2 separate regions of the Homo sapiens genome follow, and region 2 is linked to region 1. The links are contacts of gene promoters, found by promoter capture Hi-C in human tissues and cell types (Jung and others, 2019). All regions are on one chromosome and are shown on one strand. The core of a region is centred on a gene start or on the middle of the fragment in contact, and the rest is flanking DNA. Distances in the headings are between cores, read along the strand shown. Region 1 holds the start of CALM3 (calmodulin 3). Region 2 holds the start of MYPOP (Myb related transcription factor, partner of profilin).

Evidence for each region. Contacts are between HindIII fragments. The study calls those that stand out against the background at their distance.
Region 2: a contact is called between the fragment with the promoter of MYPOP here and the fragment with the promoter of CALM3 in region 1, in 1 of the 25 tissues and cell types used here (pancreas).

The regions. Positions count from the first base shown.
Region 1 is chr19:46,596,838-46,604,759 of GRCh38, forward strand. CALM3 (calmodulin 3) reads left to right here and starts at 4,493. Exons shown (of 6, transcript NM_005184.4): 1 at 4,493-4,600. The coding sequence starts at 4,598. It also overlaps the pseudogene PPP5D1P. RefSeq lists enhancers at 3,758-4,257, 5,986-6,055 and a silencer at 4,388-4,527. The HindIII fragment of the contact is 7,591 bases long and covers 1-5,499 here.
Region 2 is chr19:45,899,057-45,906,916 of GRCh38, forward strand. It overlaps MYPOP (Myb related transcription factor, partner of profilin), which reads right to left and starts at 3,557. Exons shown (of 3, transcript NM_001012643.4): 1 at 3,514-3,557; 2 at 2,219-2,769. The coding sequence starts at 2,717. RefSeq lists enhancers at 3,320-3,369, 3,800-3,909 and silencers at 3,560-3,609, 4,170-4,249. The HindIII fragment of the contact is 9,891 bases long and covers 1-5,092 here.

The DNA.
Region 1 (7,922 bases), core at 3,243-5,742:
TTTCTCTGGTAGTATGTTTTAACTTGTTACTTTTTATTTTTATTGAATCTATTATAGGTTTTTGCATTGTGGTTACCTTAAGGCTTATAAAAAAATCTTATAACAAGTTTTTTGTTTTTTGTTTTTTTTTGAGATGAAGTTTCATTTTTATTGCCCAGGCTGGAGTGCAATGGCACAATCTCGGCTCACCACAACCTCCGCCTCCCAGGTTCAAGCGATTCTCCTGCCTCAGTCTCCCGAGTAGCTGGAATTACAGGCATGTGCCACCACGCCCGGCTAATTTTTTGTATTTTTAGTAGAGAAGCGGTTTCTCTATGTTAGTCAGGCTGATCTCGAACTCCCGACCTCAGGTGATCCGCCTGCTTCAGCCTCCCAAAGTGCTGGGATTATAGGTGTGGGCCACCGTGCCTGGCCCCCTTTTTTCCTTTCTTACTGTCTTCCTTTGTGGTTAAGTGATTTTCTCTGGTAGTACGTTTTAACTTGCTACTTTTTATTTTTATTGAATCTATTATAGGTTTTTGCATTGTGGTTACCTTGAGGCTTCTAAAAAAAATCTTATAACAAGTTATTTTAAAGCGATAACATCTTAGATCACAAAGAAAAAAATAGAAACAATGAATAAAAACTCCACACTTTATCTCCTTCCCTCCCACATTTTGACTTTTTGTTTCCTCAATTTACATATTTTTATTTTGCTTGTCTTTTAACAAGCTGCTATAGCTATTATTGTTTTAATTATGGGGTCTTACTGTGTTGCTCAGACTGGCCTCAAACTCCTAGGTTCAAGTGATCCTCCTGCCTCAGCCTCCCAAGTAGCTGAGACTACACCCAGCTCAATATTATTGTTTTTGATAGATTTGTCTTTGAGGCTTTATGGTAGAGTTAAGAATGAATTGCATACCACAATTACAGTATTGGAGTATCCTGGGTTTCTCTGTGCACCTAATTTTACCAATGGGTTTTATACCTTCAAATATTTTCTTTGGCCAGGAATGATGGCTCACACCTGTAATCCCAACACTTTAGGAGGCCAATGGGGGAAGACTGCTTGAGCTCAGGAATTCGAGACCAGCCTGGGCAACATGGCAAAACCCCATCTCTACCAGAAAGAAAATACAAAAATTAGCCAGGCATGGTGGTGTGCACCTGTAGTCCCAGCTACTCAGGAGGCTGAGGTGGGAGGATCACTGGAGCCTGGCAGTTTGAGGCTGCAGTAAGCTATGATTGGGCCACTGCACTCCATCCTGGGTGATAGAGCAAGATCGTGTCTCAAAAAAAATTTTTTTTCTTTTTGCATGGTTTTTTTTTTTTCCGGATTGAGGAACTCTCTGGAACTGTCTTTCTTCAAGAGAGCATTTCTTATAATACAGATCTGGTAGTGGTGAATTCTCTCTGCTTTTATTTGGGAAAAACTTTATCTCTTCTTCATATTTGAATAATAGCTTTGCTTGATACAGTATTCTTGTATGGCCTTCATGGTTTTGATTGAGAAGTCTGTGGCCAGGTAAATTAGAGCTCTTTTAAGTGTTATTTCCTTCTTTTCTCTTACTGTTTCTAGGATCCTCTCTTTGTTCTTGACCTTTGAGAGTTTGATTATTATATGCCTTGGGGTAATCAAATCTATTTGGTGTTCTCTGGCCTTTCTGTACCTGGATATTTGCAATTTTTGAATGTCTTCCATTGTTTCTTTGAATATCCTTTCTATCCCCTTGCTCCTCCTCAGCTCCCTCTTGAACACCAATAATTCTTAGATTTTGTCTTCTATATTTCGTAGGTGATTTCCATTCCTTTCATTCTTTTTTCTTTTTTCTTCTGTATGTATTTACAAACAGCCCGTCTCCAAGTTCACTGATTGTTTCCTCTGCTTGACCCACTCTGCTGTTGAGAACCTCTAATGAACTTTTCAGTTCAGCAAATGTATTTCTCAGTTCTAAGATTTGTTTGGGTTTTTTTTAAATTATTATTTCAATCTCTTTGTTAAATTTCACTGATAAATTTCTGCGTTGCTTTTCTATGTCGTCTTGGAATTCACTGAGTTTCCTTAAAAATGCCATTTTGAATTCTTAGAAAGCTCACATATTACTGTCTTGTTAGGTTTAGTCACTGGTCCCTTACTTGGTCCATTTGGGGAGCTCATGGTTCCCTGTTTGCTTTGGTTTGTTGTTAATGTACATCTATGCCTTTGCACTGAAGGATTAGTCACTTATTCCAGCCTTCTCCGTCTGGCTTGTTTTGGCTTTTACTGGCTCCATTTGCTTACAGATTCTTCGTAATTGACCTGTTGGTTTCTTTTTTTCTGCTAGGTTGCTGCCTCCTTTTTAGCACTCAGTGGCACCTTAAAACCAGGTTTGCCTTGGCTCTATTAAAGATCAGAGCGTCTCCCATCCCGAATGGGGGAGGTCCCAAAGGGGATATCCCAGTAGCATAGGAAAGCTGGCTAGGGGTTCATTCCCAGGGGAGCTATGGAAGAAACCTCCCACAGCATGGTGCTAACGAACAGCCACTCTGATTTGGCATCTCCTTTGGCCAAGTTATAGAGTAGAGAGAGTTTCCAGGGCTGGGGATGGTAGTCCCACCTCCCCACTTTGTCTGTGGCTATTCTCAGAGGATATTTCTCCCTTGAGGCACTCCTGATGGTTGTATTCTTGTGATTACAGCACTTTGGGAGGCCAAGGCAGGCGGATCACTTGAGCTCAAGAGTTTGAGACCAGCCTGGCCAACATGGTGAAACCCTGTCTTTACTAAAAATACAAAAATTAGCCAAGTGTAGTGGTGGGTGCCTGTAGTCCCAACTACTTGGGAGGCTGAGGCAGGAGAATCGCTTAAACCTGGGAGGCGGAGGTTGTAGTGAGCCAAGATCATGCCACTGCACTCTAGCCTATGTGACAGAGCAAGACTCCGTCTCAAAAAAAATACAGATCTTGTGTGAACTAACAGAATAAGAACTCACTTGTTACCGTGAGGACAGCACCAAGTCATTCATGAGGGATCCACCCCTATGACCCAAACACCTCCCACCAGGCCCCACCTCCAACATTGGTGATCACATTTTAACATGAGATTTGAGACTGAGTAACAAGTGTTAGGATTAAAGGCATGAGCCACCGCGCCCGGCCATCTTCTTTACCTCTCCACTGTGTCAGTTTTATTTTTCTCTTCTTCTCTAGACACTTTGTTCCTCAAGATAGGGGGCAGAGTGGGAAAATGACCATAGTCAGAATCTATGGGAAGGACCCACCCAAAAGGAAAAGGCTTCTTGTGCCCAGGCTGCAGATCCAAACCCCAGGGAAGGACTCTCATTGGTTCAGTCTCCATTCTGTTCCAGGTGGAGCATAATGATTGGTCCAGCCTGACTCGTTTGCCCATCTCTTAACCATCAACATGGTGGGGAGGGGACACGCAGGAGACTGTCAGCTCCTATCCTAAACGGGGGAGGGGGCAGGGGTGATCATTTTCTGAGCTCCTATAAACAAAGTTTCAGTTCTTTTTCCTCCTATGGCTGGAACACTGGAATAAGGAAAGAGGTCGTCTGTCTGGAGAGGCTGGTTGGGGAGTATGGTCTCCCCAGCCCAGCCAAGCTCAGGTCCCTGCATACAGCAGGCGCCTAATTGATGCTTATAGCACGAATGACTGAATGAATACCCCGTTCCCACAGGCTGTCCTGGGATGGTCCTAATTTCACAGACCCTGAGCGGATCAAGAATGAAGCGGGCCCAGGGGTCCCGCCCACCGGCTGAGTGCGTCTTAGGACGCAGAGACAAGACCACGGAGGGCGGAACCTCTGAGCGTTAGGTGGCACCTTGGAGACCCCGCCACCTCCAAAGGCCCAGTTAGGGGCGGAGCTTCTAAACCCTAGCATTTTGGATTGAACCATCGTCCGTCGGTTAAAGGGGAGAGCCGAGAAAGCCCTTCTGCATTTGTCGCCAGCCTTTTTACCACCTCCTGGCCACAGAAACGACGTATTTGCTTCTCTAACGGCGACGCCGTTTCCCCCTTCGCCTCGTTACTCCTCAAAGCCCCACGCGGCCACAGAGTTCAGACTTACCCACCACCACCTTGCAGTGGCTCGCCCCAGTTTGACGCATTGCAGGGAAGGTCGGACCAATGGGCGCCAAGCTCTCATTTCCGCCATGGGCCAGGCCCAATAGTGACGCGGCTCACAGAGGGACGCGTCACGCACCGCCGAGCTGTGCCCCTCCGCCGAAGAAAGTGAAGTGGGCCCGGGAGGCGGGGCGCGCGGCGAGGGAAAGTAGTCCGGCGACGGGAGCGAGCGCGCGCGCGCCCGGCGGCAAACCCAATTCCTGTGCAGGGTGGGGACGAGAGATTCGCGGGCCCGTAGGTGTGGAGCGGGGCGCGGAGGGATCCGTGGGAGCCGCAGTGCGGCGGCGCGCGGGCCGGGTGGGGCGGGGCCGAGCGAGGCGGGGCGCGCGCGGCGGCCGTTGAGGGACCGTTGGGGCGGGAGGCGGCGGCGGCGGCGGCGCGCGCTGCGGGCAGTGAGTGTGGAGGCGCGGACGCGCGGCGGAGCTGGAACTGCTGCAGCTGCTGCCGCCGCCGGAGGAACCTTGATCCCCGTGCTCCGGACACCCCGGGCCTCGCCATGGTGAGTGAGGCTGGGGGGTCGCCGAGGCTGCGGGCTCTGAGGCGGGCTTAACGGGGCAGGACCCCTGAGGGGGCGACAGAGCCCAGAGTGGGGGGCGTCCGGGCCCGGCGAGAGCCTCGGGACCCTTTTCTACCCGCGTTGTCGGGGGCTGTTGAACCCAGAGCGGGACGTCTGGATCACCAGAGGTTTCCAGAAGCGACTTTAGCACCAAATGGGATGTTTAAGTCCACAAATGGGTATCTGAGCCCCTAAAGGGGACATTTGAACCCCGGATGGAGGATCGGGACCCTCAGTGGGACCCCTCAAAAGGATTTTGGACCCAGGATGGGGCGTTGGGTTTCAGGATGGAGGTGTTTGGACCCCAGGGGACGAAATAAGAAAGATGGGCTGGGGAGGGGAGCTATTCGGGCCCTGATGAAGGCGTTTGGTCCTGAGAGGATGCGGGGAACGGGGGACGAAGGGAGGCTGGGCTGCTCCTGGATGGGGTGGTGGAGGGTAGCTGGGCCCGGGCGGGGAGGGGCGACCCCTGGGCTCCTGTGGAGCAGAGGAGAGGGTCAAGGATGGGCGGTCACTTCTACAGATGAGACTCCCGAGGGTGGGGGAGGGTGGGGGAGGGTGGTCTCCAGAGCCCAGCACTGCAGAGGAGGAGGAGGGTGAGGTGCAAGCTTATGGGAGGAAGAGCCTGGGGTGGGTGGCAGCGGAGATTAGAAGATACTCTTGAAGGCTTCCGGGACGGAGAAGGATCAGGGTCGTGGAGGTGGTGAAAAGGGATGGTGAGAGTGGGGCTCGCCAGTAGTCGGGGGACAGGGACCCTTGGGGTTAATTTGGAAGTAGCTAGAAAAGGTTCCGAGGTTACTAGTGGGTTAAGACTGTTGCTCTAGAAAGACAGAATTTTTTTAACGGGGTGGGAGTGTTGTGTTTGGGTCCAAGAGAAGATGGATTTCCAAGGTGAGGGGTGGGGGAGGACTTGGGCTTGGGTGGTTGGGAGGTGAGGTGGAAGGAGAAAATGAATGGCAGTCAGGGGGGCCTAGGTTTGGGGGTGGATGTGGGTAGCACCCTGCCAGTCTCCAGGGACAGGCCAGGACAAAGACGGCTCAGTGTGGATGGGGAGTGGGCTGCAGGGCCCGGAGGAAGCTTTTCTACCGTCCTCCTTCCTCAGGAAGAACGCGGCTGGGTGGAAGACACCGGGGCAGTGGGAGCAGGTGGGCGGAGCTGTTCGGGCCCCTATTGCGCACTGAAGCCTCATGAAATGGGGATGGGAGATCAAAGTTTGGGGTGCCTCGAATGAGCCAGCTTTTTCAAGCCTAGAAGCCTCACTCTGTCGCTGCCCTTTTCAGGCCAAGAGCACTGCCTTTTCCCAGCAGGAGCGCCGGTTTTCTCATGATCCCCAGCCCCACGCACCATGCTGCACCTCGTCACTTGTGCCAAATGACAGTGCAGTACAGTGTGGCGTCAGTGACAATCAGATGCCTATTCCCGTGCCCTCGGGGTGGGGGCTGCAGAGCTTGATCAGAGAGTGCCTCTGGGGAGACCCCTTGATCGGCCTGAGGGCCACTTGTTCCATTCAGGGCCCTCGCTGAGCGTGTCTGTTAATTCACAGGGCTTTGAGAGAAAACCAGCAGACTAGTTCTTTCCTACTCCCTGCCACCCACAACACCCACAGCCCCACCAGGCTGAGCCTGGGAACCGTGTGCAGCCATCCTCCCTGGCAAGGCTGGGGAGAACAGGCAGCCGCTGCTGTGTATCAGATCTCATACTTGCTGACACAGACCTGATGGCTCCTCTTGCCGCTACCCCATTTTCCCCCAGCAGAACCTGGCTAAAAGGGGCCCTGAAGCACTAGCAGGCCCCCTACCTCCAGAATAGGACCCAAGCTTTGGCCACAACTAGTTTCTCTTTCTGTTTGTAATCAGCAAGGTAGAGGTGGGACAAGTCACTGGTAACTGGCCTTGGACTTTGGCCTGAGCTCTGTGGCTCCTCCTTGGCCCGGGTGAGGGGCCCTGGCCTTGGTTTCTGATCTCATCTAACACTGCTCTCTGGCATTGGCTGGGGGCTGGGGCAAGGCAGAGAAATCACACCCTCTTCCCTCCCCCACCTCATGGTTTTTTTTCTTGTCCAGCCCCTTGCTGGAGCCTAAGATGAGGGATAAGGAAGCAGGAGACCAGCTGAGTTATTTTGGAAACAGTTTTTGTTGAAAGTTTAGTCTTCAGGTCTAGAAAGGGAAGAAACCTTGAGCAAGGATCAATGATATCTTCTTAGGCGGTCGGTTTTCTGGGCGGCAACCTTGCTTGAGATCTGTACCTTTCCTTGACCAAGCAGGGAAGTGGGTCTCCAACATGGGAGGGAGAGCATCTGACAGGCCCTCCATGCAGAGCCACGCCTATTTGCAGCAACCCTGTGACAGAACTGAACATGGCAGTGCCTCATCTGCATCTTCCAGTCTTTTGGTGGAGACTGGCAAACGGTGGCCTTCAGAGCCGCTCGGGGCAGTCTGCAGCCTGTCACAGCCTCCTCGCCCCCACCCCCAGCCCCTTACAGTGCTGCCCAAAGGTCCGGGGAGCTGGACTTCTTGCAGGGCGGAACAGTGGGCTGGGAAGGCCCTGACCTGGCTCGCTTTTTCCATTCTAGGCCAGGGGAAAGAATGAAAAGCAGATGGGATGGCAGCCACCTCCCCACACTGCTGCCCTCCTCTCTGTTCTTTCCCTGACCCTCCCTGGGCATTGCCTGGTCTCGGTAACCAGAAGCCCATCCTCCCTTCTCACTTTCCCTAAGCCTCTTCCTCAGGTGTCAGGACCTAAGGGATGGCTCCAGGCTTTTTTGTCCATGGTGGGAGGTGGGGGGCAGGTGGATCAAGAGGCTCATGGGCCTGGGGCTACCAGGTTGGCATTTAGAAGCCCAACCACCCTGTCTTTTTTGAAGGCAATGCAGAAGAATCTTCATTTGGCCTCCCCACCTCCCCTTTACACTTTGGACTTTTCCAGAATGTGCATGTGTGCCGTTTTCTCCCTTCCTCTTTCCCCCTCCCTAAGCCCTCTCCCCTCTGTGATCATCATTTTGATTACCCCTCCCATTCTGCCTATTTGGGGCTTGCAAGTTCTTCTTCCGTTAGGTTTTTTTTTTTTTTTTCTAACTTTTTTAGATCAGTGATTGTTAATATTTGGGACGGGGATGGGGGTAGGGGAGGCAGGCAGTGGTTTGTTCCTAGCTTCTGGAACCTCTCCGTAGAATACTGCAAATTCACATAATAGTCTGCTTCTATTTCTGAGGCTCTCAGACTCGAGACTAGAACATGCTATAGACTTGGAGCCCCTTTCCCTGATTG
Region 2 (7,860 bases), core at 2,307-4,806, 700 kb before region 1:
TCTCTACTAAAAATACAAAATTAGCCAGGCATGGTGGCGCATGCCTGTAATCTCGGCTACTCGGGAGGATGAGGCAGGAGAATTGCTTGAACCTGGGAGGCGGAGGTTGCGGTGAGCCGAGATTGCGCCATTTCACTCTAGCCTGGGCAATAAGAGCAAAACTCAGTCTCAAACAAACAAACAAACAAGCAAACAAAAAAAGAATGTCGGTTCCATAAGGGAAGGGGATTTTGTCTTTTTCTCTACATTATTCCCTGCACCTACCACAGCGTCTGCCTTGGATGAGGTTCTCAATATATATTTGCTAAACGAGTGAATGAAGTGGTAACAAGTTTCTGAAAAAATAAGTTGGCCATCTCTGCTCTGGTCCTATGGGGCCATCTCACAGATGGAAACACTGAGGTTTGATTCAAGGTTTGAGAACAAGGGTCCCATGTGATTGTGTCACCTTCCTGCTTAGGAGATTTTCATGCCTCCTGAATGCCCTCAAGAGCAAGTCCAGGCCGGGCGTGGTGGCTCAGGCCTGTAATCCCAGCACTTTGGGAGGCCGAGGTGGGTGGATCACCTGAGGTCGGGAGTTCCAGACCAGCCTGGTCAACATGGTGAAATCCCATCTCTACTAAAAATACAAAAATTACCTGGGCATGGTGGCAGGCACCTGTAATCCCAGCTACTCAGGAGGCTGAGGCAGGAGAATCACTTGAACCTGGGGAGGCGGAGGTTGCAGCAAGCCAAGATTTCGCCACTGCACTCCAGCCTGGGCAACAGAGCAAGACTCCGTCTCAAAACAAAAAACAAAACAAAAAAAATAGTAAGTCCAAATTCCTGACCTTGACTTCCAAGCCACGTGTAATCTAATTCTGGCACACTCATTAACTCCTGGTCAATATTAACTCTTGTTATTGCTGGGCAATCTTGCTCAGTGGTTAAGTGCCATGGACTGGGGGTTGGACGCACACTTATGCTTGAGTCCTGACTCTGTCACTTACTTGCTGTGTGACCTTGGGTGGGTGAATGAACCTCTCTGAATCACATAATCTTGAACTGTCTTGTTTGATCATGCCCATGTTCCTCCCCTTCTCCAAACTCTTCAGTGGCTTCTCATAGCAGTCAGGATAAAATCCAAACTCCTCACCTTGGCCTAAAGGCCCAGTATGGTCTGGCCTTTGCTGACCTCTCTGAACTCATCTCAAAATGTTACTTTTCTTCAACCTTTCCACTCTACACTCTTTTCCCCGCAACTTCTTTTAGTTTCCCAAACTGGCCAAGCTTTCTTGCCTCCAAGCCATTGTACATGCTGTTCCCTCTACCAAAAATACTTTCCCAGTTCTTCATTCTTACTCTTTGCATCTCAGCTCTGATGTCCCCTCCTCCAGGAAGCCCTCCTGGACCACCCCCCCCCCCACCGAAATCAGAAACCCTCTCTGGGCTCCCACAGTCCCTGGGATCCCCTACCCCAGCCCTGCTCCCTCAAGTCATCACCGTCTTCCCCACCCCCCTACTAGACTGGCTCAGTCATCCATGTGTCCCCAACCTCATCGAGCATGGGGCAGGTGCTCAGGGAACGGCTGTAGAAGAAATAATCCAGAATCAAGGCTAAGCAGGAAGTTTCTGTAGTCAGCTCTCCACACCTCTATCCAAGGCATGACCTTGGGAAAATTACCAAACATGTCTGAGTCTTTTATTTATGAAATAGTGAAATAGTATGCATCTTACCGCATTGATGATTCTATCAAGAACTAACAATGAGAGTTGAGGAGGTGCTGAACTAAGCAACTTACCCATATTAGCTCATTTAATCTTCACAGCAACGCTTTGAGGTGCAGACTATTTTTATCTCCATTTTACAGATGCAGCAACTGAAGTACAGTAACTTACTCAGATGACACAGTTCAGTGGCAAAGTTGTGATCGGAGCCCAGGCAGCCTGCCTCCAGAGTCACTACTCGACACTGCATTTAATGAAATCCTGCCTGTGCTGATGACCCCAGGTGTGGACCTGAGTCAGGCCTCCTAAATCTGGTTCCATTCCTGGCTCTTGACAGTTACTAGCTATCGGAACTGAGGCAAGTCATTTCATTTTTCTGAGCTTCAGTTTCCCTAGCTATAAAATGGGGCGAAGGACAGCATCCACCTCACAGGGCTGCAGCAAGGCTTTGATGAGACATGTAAAAGGCTTGCAACAGCGCAGGCACACAGCCTACTCTGAAGACACTCACCTGCACGTCGGTCCTCCCGGCGGTCTTCCGACAACACGTAGCGCTGAGGGCAGGCGCTTGGGGGCGGCGGCTGTGAAGAGGGGGCCGCAGGGGGCTCCTCCGCCCCAGCACCTGCCCCCGGCGCCGCCACACCTGGCCCCAGGATGGCAAAAATGGTCTCCTCTTCCGCGGAGAAAGCGTCCTCCGCGGCGGGCCCGGCGCCCTGCGTGGAGTGCGGCACGCGAGCGAGCTTCTCCTTGGTGCGGCGCTTGAAGTCGTTCCAGCGCTTCTGCACCTCCTGGCCCGTGCGCTTCCAGCTGGTGATACCGTTGATCTTGGCGGCGATGCCGTCCCACACGCGCCGCCGCTCTGCCACGCTCACCCGACGGCTCTGCGCGCCGTAGAGCTGCGGGTAGTGGGCGCGCACCTCGCGGATCAGGATCTGGTTCTCTTCGAATGAGAAGCGCGGCTTGCGCAACCGGGTGGTTTCCTCCGCTTCGCCCGCCGCCGCCGAGGCCATGGCGCCCCCCGACGCCGCCGTCCTGCCGTCTGGCGCATGGGGGGCGCCGGCGCTGCGGGCAAAGGGCGCACGGGGCTGGCTGGGGTTCGGGGTCCCCCCGCCGCCGCCTCTCCCAGACCGCCGGGCCGAGAGCTCCTTAGTCCCCGGGGGCAGGAGTGGGGGCGGGGGGCGGGCGGGGGCGACGGGCACCCGGGTAAGTCGGAAGCGCCTAAGAGTAGCTGACACCGGCTGAGCGCTTGGCTCGGACTTCGCGCGGCGCGAAGTGCCACGCTGAAGAGTTGATAGAAATTGGGGGAGGGTCTGGAGGGATGGAAGGAAAGGAGGAAAAGTGCGAGGAGAGGAGGTGTCTGCAGGAGTTAGAGAATGGGGGCACGGGAGGATAGGAAATGGAGGGAGGATGGGGGTGCCTCGGGGGGGTCTTAGATGCATGAAGATAAGGAGATGCGGAAGGGGGGATGCAGCAAGAAGGGGGGAATCTGGAGCAGAGGAGGCGCTCTAGGGGCTCTAGGGGGCAACGGGGCGTCTGTAAGACCGATATGAGAAGGGCCCTTAGAGGGATGTCCAGGAATAATGGTGAGGTGGGAGCTCCTGTATCACTGGAAGAGCTGGAACGATCAAATATTAGGGATCAGGGTCTGCGAGGATTGTGGGGGCTCTGGGGATTGCCAGAAATTAAGGGGAGCTCTGGAAATAACGGGGGTCCCGTATCACAAGGAGACAACGGAGGCTACGGGGGACGGCAGGGAGAGCGAAGGTCGCGGAGGGTGGGGACCGAGTCGGGCCACGGGTCACTCACCGGCTCCGCCGCAGCCGCCGGTGGGTCAGGGCTCGGGCTTCTGCGGCCTGTTCCCACCCCCCGCCTCCCTCCCTCCCCTCTTTCGGCCCCGCCTCCGGCCGCCCCGCATGCCAAGGCGCAGGCGCGCCCAGGGCCAGTCGGCCCCAATGCCCTTACCGCCAGGGTTTCATTCCCACCTACCCCAGCACAGCGCAGGCGCAGAACTGCGCTCCGCCGAGCCCCACCAGCAGGCCGCAACTGCGCAGCCGCAACGTTAGCGCCGCGCGGGTACCCCAGCTTCCTGGGGCCACAACGGCGCACGCGCAAAAACTCCATCGCGCGCATGCGCGTGCCTCGGGTTGTACCCGGTACCGGGTCTCGGCGCAGGCGTTGCGAGCTTGGATGGGAGAGATGCTGGGAGCGCGCCAGTACCCAACCTTTCGGACAGTCTTCCAGCCCACCCTGCCCTCTAACCAAAGGGGAGGGAGACAGCGCTGAAGGGAAGCGCTTTGTCTCCTTGACAACTGTGTGGGTGGGGTGGAGGCGTGAGGAAACCGCTTTGCCTCCTGGCTTGCCCGCCCCTGCGCTGGGCCGCTCCAGAGCTTCCCACCTCGCACCCCTAGAGGCTGGGCGTCCTGGGGATGTCCCGCCCCGGGCGGATGCAGTAACCATAGCGACCCACAAGCCTTCCAGTCACGCCTTGGGGGCCCCTCTGTGCGCACCTTTACCTCGAGGAGCGGGGAAAATAAGAGGGAAGAGCTTCCTGGCTGGTAGGAAGGGAGATCCTGACGCCGGCACGACTTTAAGCAAGTGCATGGAGACAGGAATGAAGCCAGAACGCAGGTGGGGTGAGCCGCATGGCAGGATGATGGAGCTCAGTCCGGCTGAGAAGTGTGTTCGTTAGCATCCTGCAGGAGTCCTCAAGGTCATTCGACAATTGGTGCTTCATTCATCGACTCAATAAATATACATGAGCACTTACACAGTTCCTGGTACAATGAACATAAAAGCTAAAATCCGTAGCCTGGGCCGGGCGCGGTGGAGCTCACGCCTGTAATCCCAGCACTTTGGGAAGCCAAGGCGGGCGGATTACCTGAGGTCAGGGGTTCGAGACAAGCCTGGCCAACACAGTGAAACCCCATCTCTACTGAAAATACAAAAACTAGCTGGGCATGGTGGTGCATGCCTGTAATCCCAGCTACTCGGGAGGCTGAGGCACGAGAATCGCTTAACCCCGGGAGGCAGAGGTTGCAGTGAGCTGAGATTGCACCACTGCACTCCACCTGGACGACAGAGTGAGACTCCGTCTCAAAAAAAAAAAAAAAAAAAATACATGCCTGTAGTCCCAGCTACTTGGGAGGCTGAGGCGGGAGGATCGCTTGAGCCCAGGAGTTGCAGGCTGCAGTGAGCTATGATCAGGCCACTGCTCTCCAGCTTGGGCAACAGAGTAAGACCCTGTCTCAAAAGAAGAGAGAGAGAAAAAAAAGGCCCCTCTGCCTGCTGTGTGGAGGGTGGGTGGGAGGGAGCAAGACTACTGGGTAGAGTCAAAAAAAGTCATGAGCAGGGGTAAGAAAAGGATTAGGAAAGCGAGGGGAGACTAAACTAAGACAGGGACAGTGTCAAGGGGGACACGGAGAGACATTTGAGAGAATATATGGAAAGCATGGTGAGTGTCGCGCTAGCGAGGGAAAGGAAGATGTCTAGGTGAAACCCAAGTCTCTGGCCCAGGTTCTCACTTGGGGGTGTGGGGTCAGGTAAGATGTGGTGAATGTAAGGCTGGGTGCAGTGGCTCACGCCTGTAATCCCAACACTTTGGGAGGCTGAGACAGGTGGATCATCTGAGGTCAGGAGTTCGAGACCAGCCTGGCCAACATGGTGGAACCCTGTCTCTATTAAAAATTCAAAAAAAAAAAAAATAGCTGGGTGTTGTGCCATGTGCCTGTAATCCTAGCTACTCGGGAGGCTGAGGCAGGAGAATCTCTTGAGCCTAGGAGGCACAGATTGCAGGGAACCGAGATCTCACCACTGCACTCCAGCCTGGGCGACAGAGTGAGACTCTGTCTCAAAAAAATTAAAAAAAAGGCCGGGCGCAGTGGCTCATTCCTGTAATCCCAGCACTTTGGGAGGCCGAGGCAGGTGGATCACGAGGTCAGGAGATTGAGACCATCCTGACTAACATGGTGAAACCCCGTCTCTACTAAAAATACAAAAAATTAGCCGGGAGTGGTGGCAGGCGCCTGAAGTCCCAGCTACTCGGGAGGCTGAGGCAGGAGAATGGCATGAACCCGGGAGGCTGAGCTTGCAGTGAGCTGAGACTGCGCCACTGCATTCCAGCCTGGGGGACAGCGTGAGACTCTGCCTCAAAAAAAAATTAAATTAAAAAAATAAGAACAACAACAAAAAAAACACAATCAAAAAAAGATACGTGAGTGTAAAGTGACCAACAGGTTGAACTGTTTCCCCCAAAAAGAGAGGCTGAAGTCCTGATCCCCCAGTGCTTCAGAATGTGACCTTATTTGGAAATAGGGTCCTTGGAGAGGGAATTCGTTGAGAGGTAGCCATACCAGTGTAGGGTGGACCCGTCATTCCTCATTCCCGGTGTCTTTATAAGAAGAGGAGACACACAGGGAAGACAATTCTATGGTGACAGAAGTGGAGACGGGGGTGACGCAGCCACAAGCCCAGGAAGGCCCTGTGCTATCAGAAGCTGGAAGAAGCCAGGAAAGATCACCCGCTGGAGCCTTGTCCGGAGTGAGGCCACGCCCATGCCTTGATTTCGGATTTTCAGCCTGGTGAATCTGGGAGACAATACGTTTCTCTCTCTCTGTTTTTTTTTTTTTTTTGAAATGGAGTCTTGCTCTGTTGCCCAGGCTGGAGTACAGTGGCACGATCTCGGCTCGCTGCAGCCTCTGCCTCCCGGATTCCAGTGATTCTCCTGCCTCAGTCTCCCGGGTAACTGGGATTACAGGCGCATGCCACCATGCCCAGCTAATTTTTGTATTTTTAGTAGAGACGGGGTTTCACAGTGTTGGCCAGGCTGGTCTTGAACTCCTTACCTCAGGTGATCCGCCTGTCTCGGCCTCCCAAAGTGCTAGGATTACAGGTGTGAGCCACCGTGCCTAGCCACGTTTCTCGTTTTAAACCACCCAGTTTGCGGTACCTTGTCATGGCAGCCACAGGAAACAAATGCACTGGGGACCCCGGGAAGGCATTCGGGGAGCTGCATTCAGGGAGCTGCTGCCTCCATGGCAGTCCAGGCAGAGAGTTGAGTCTAAACCTGGCTCTGGGTTCACGAGGCGGTGGGAGGTGGAGAGCCACAGCAGTGGGGTATGGAGCTCCACAGATGTGGGTAGCTGGAAGCTGGATGCAGGAAGTCAGAGGGCAAGACTCCTGGGGTGAGGGTGGGTCAGGGAAGGCTTTCTAGGGCCACATTTTCTTTCTTGTCTTGCCTCTTTTCTTTTCTTGATGGAGTTTTGCTCTTGTCGCCCAGGCTGGAGAGCAATGGTGCGATCTCGGCTCACAGCAACCTCTGCCTCCCTGGTTCAAGCGATTCTCCTGTCTCAGCCTCCTGAGTACCTGGGACTACAGGGGCACGCCACCACACTTGGCTAATTTTTGTTTTTTTTTTAGTAGAGATGGGATTTCACCCGTGTTGGCCAGGCTGGTCTCAAACACCTGACCTCAGATGATCCACCTGCCTTGTCCTCCCAAAGTGCTAGGATTATAGGCATGAGCCACTGTGCCTGGCGAAGGGCCACATTTTCAAAACTGTGAGTTGTGAGTCCTTTTTTTTTTTTTTTTTTGAGACAGAGACTTGCTCTATGACCCAGACTGGAGTGCAGTGGTACAATCATGCAATCATGACTCAAACTTCCAGGCTCACCCTCCCACCTCAGCCTCTAGAGTAGCTGGAACTACAGGCACACACCATCATGCCCGGCTAAGTTTTAAAATTTTTTGTAGAGACAAGATCCCACTGTGTTGCCTAGGCTGGTCCCAAATTCCTGGGCTTGAGCAATCCTCTGTGAGGCCTCAGCCTCCAAGAGTGTTGGGATTACAGGCGTGAGCCACTGAGTCCAGCCAAAACTGTGAATCTTGACCCATTAGTGAGTCCAGGAAAATACTTAGGAAGTTGCAAGGAGAGATATTTAGGAGGAAGAATGGACAGGACTTGGAACCTGATGGGCTGTGAGGGGTGAGGGAAAAAGCCTAGATCTCTGGCCCTGGAGACAGGGTACATTACATGGTAGGGCCGGCCAAGATGGGGACTTGAGGGGTAGCAGATGTGGGGGTAAGATGCTGAAGTGGTTTGGGATGTGGTGGGTATGAAAGGCCTGGGGAGGTTTGGGGAATGAGGAAGAGCATCCA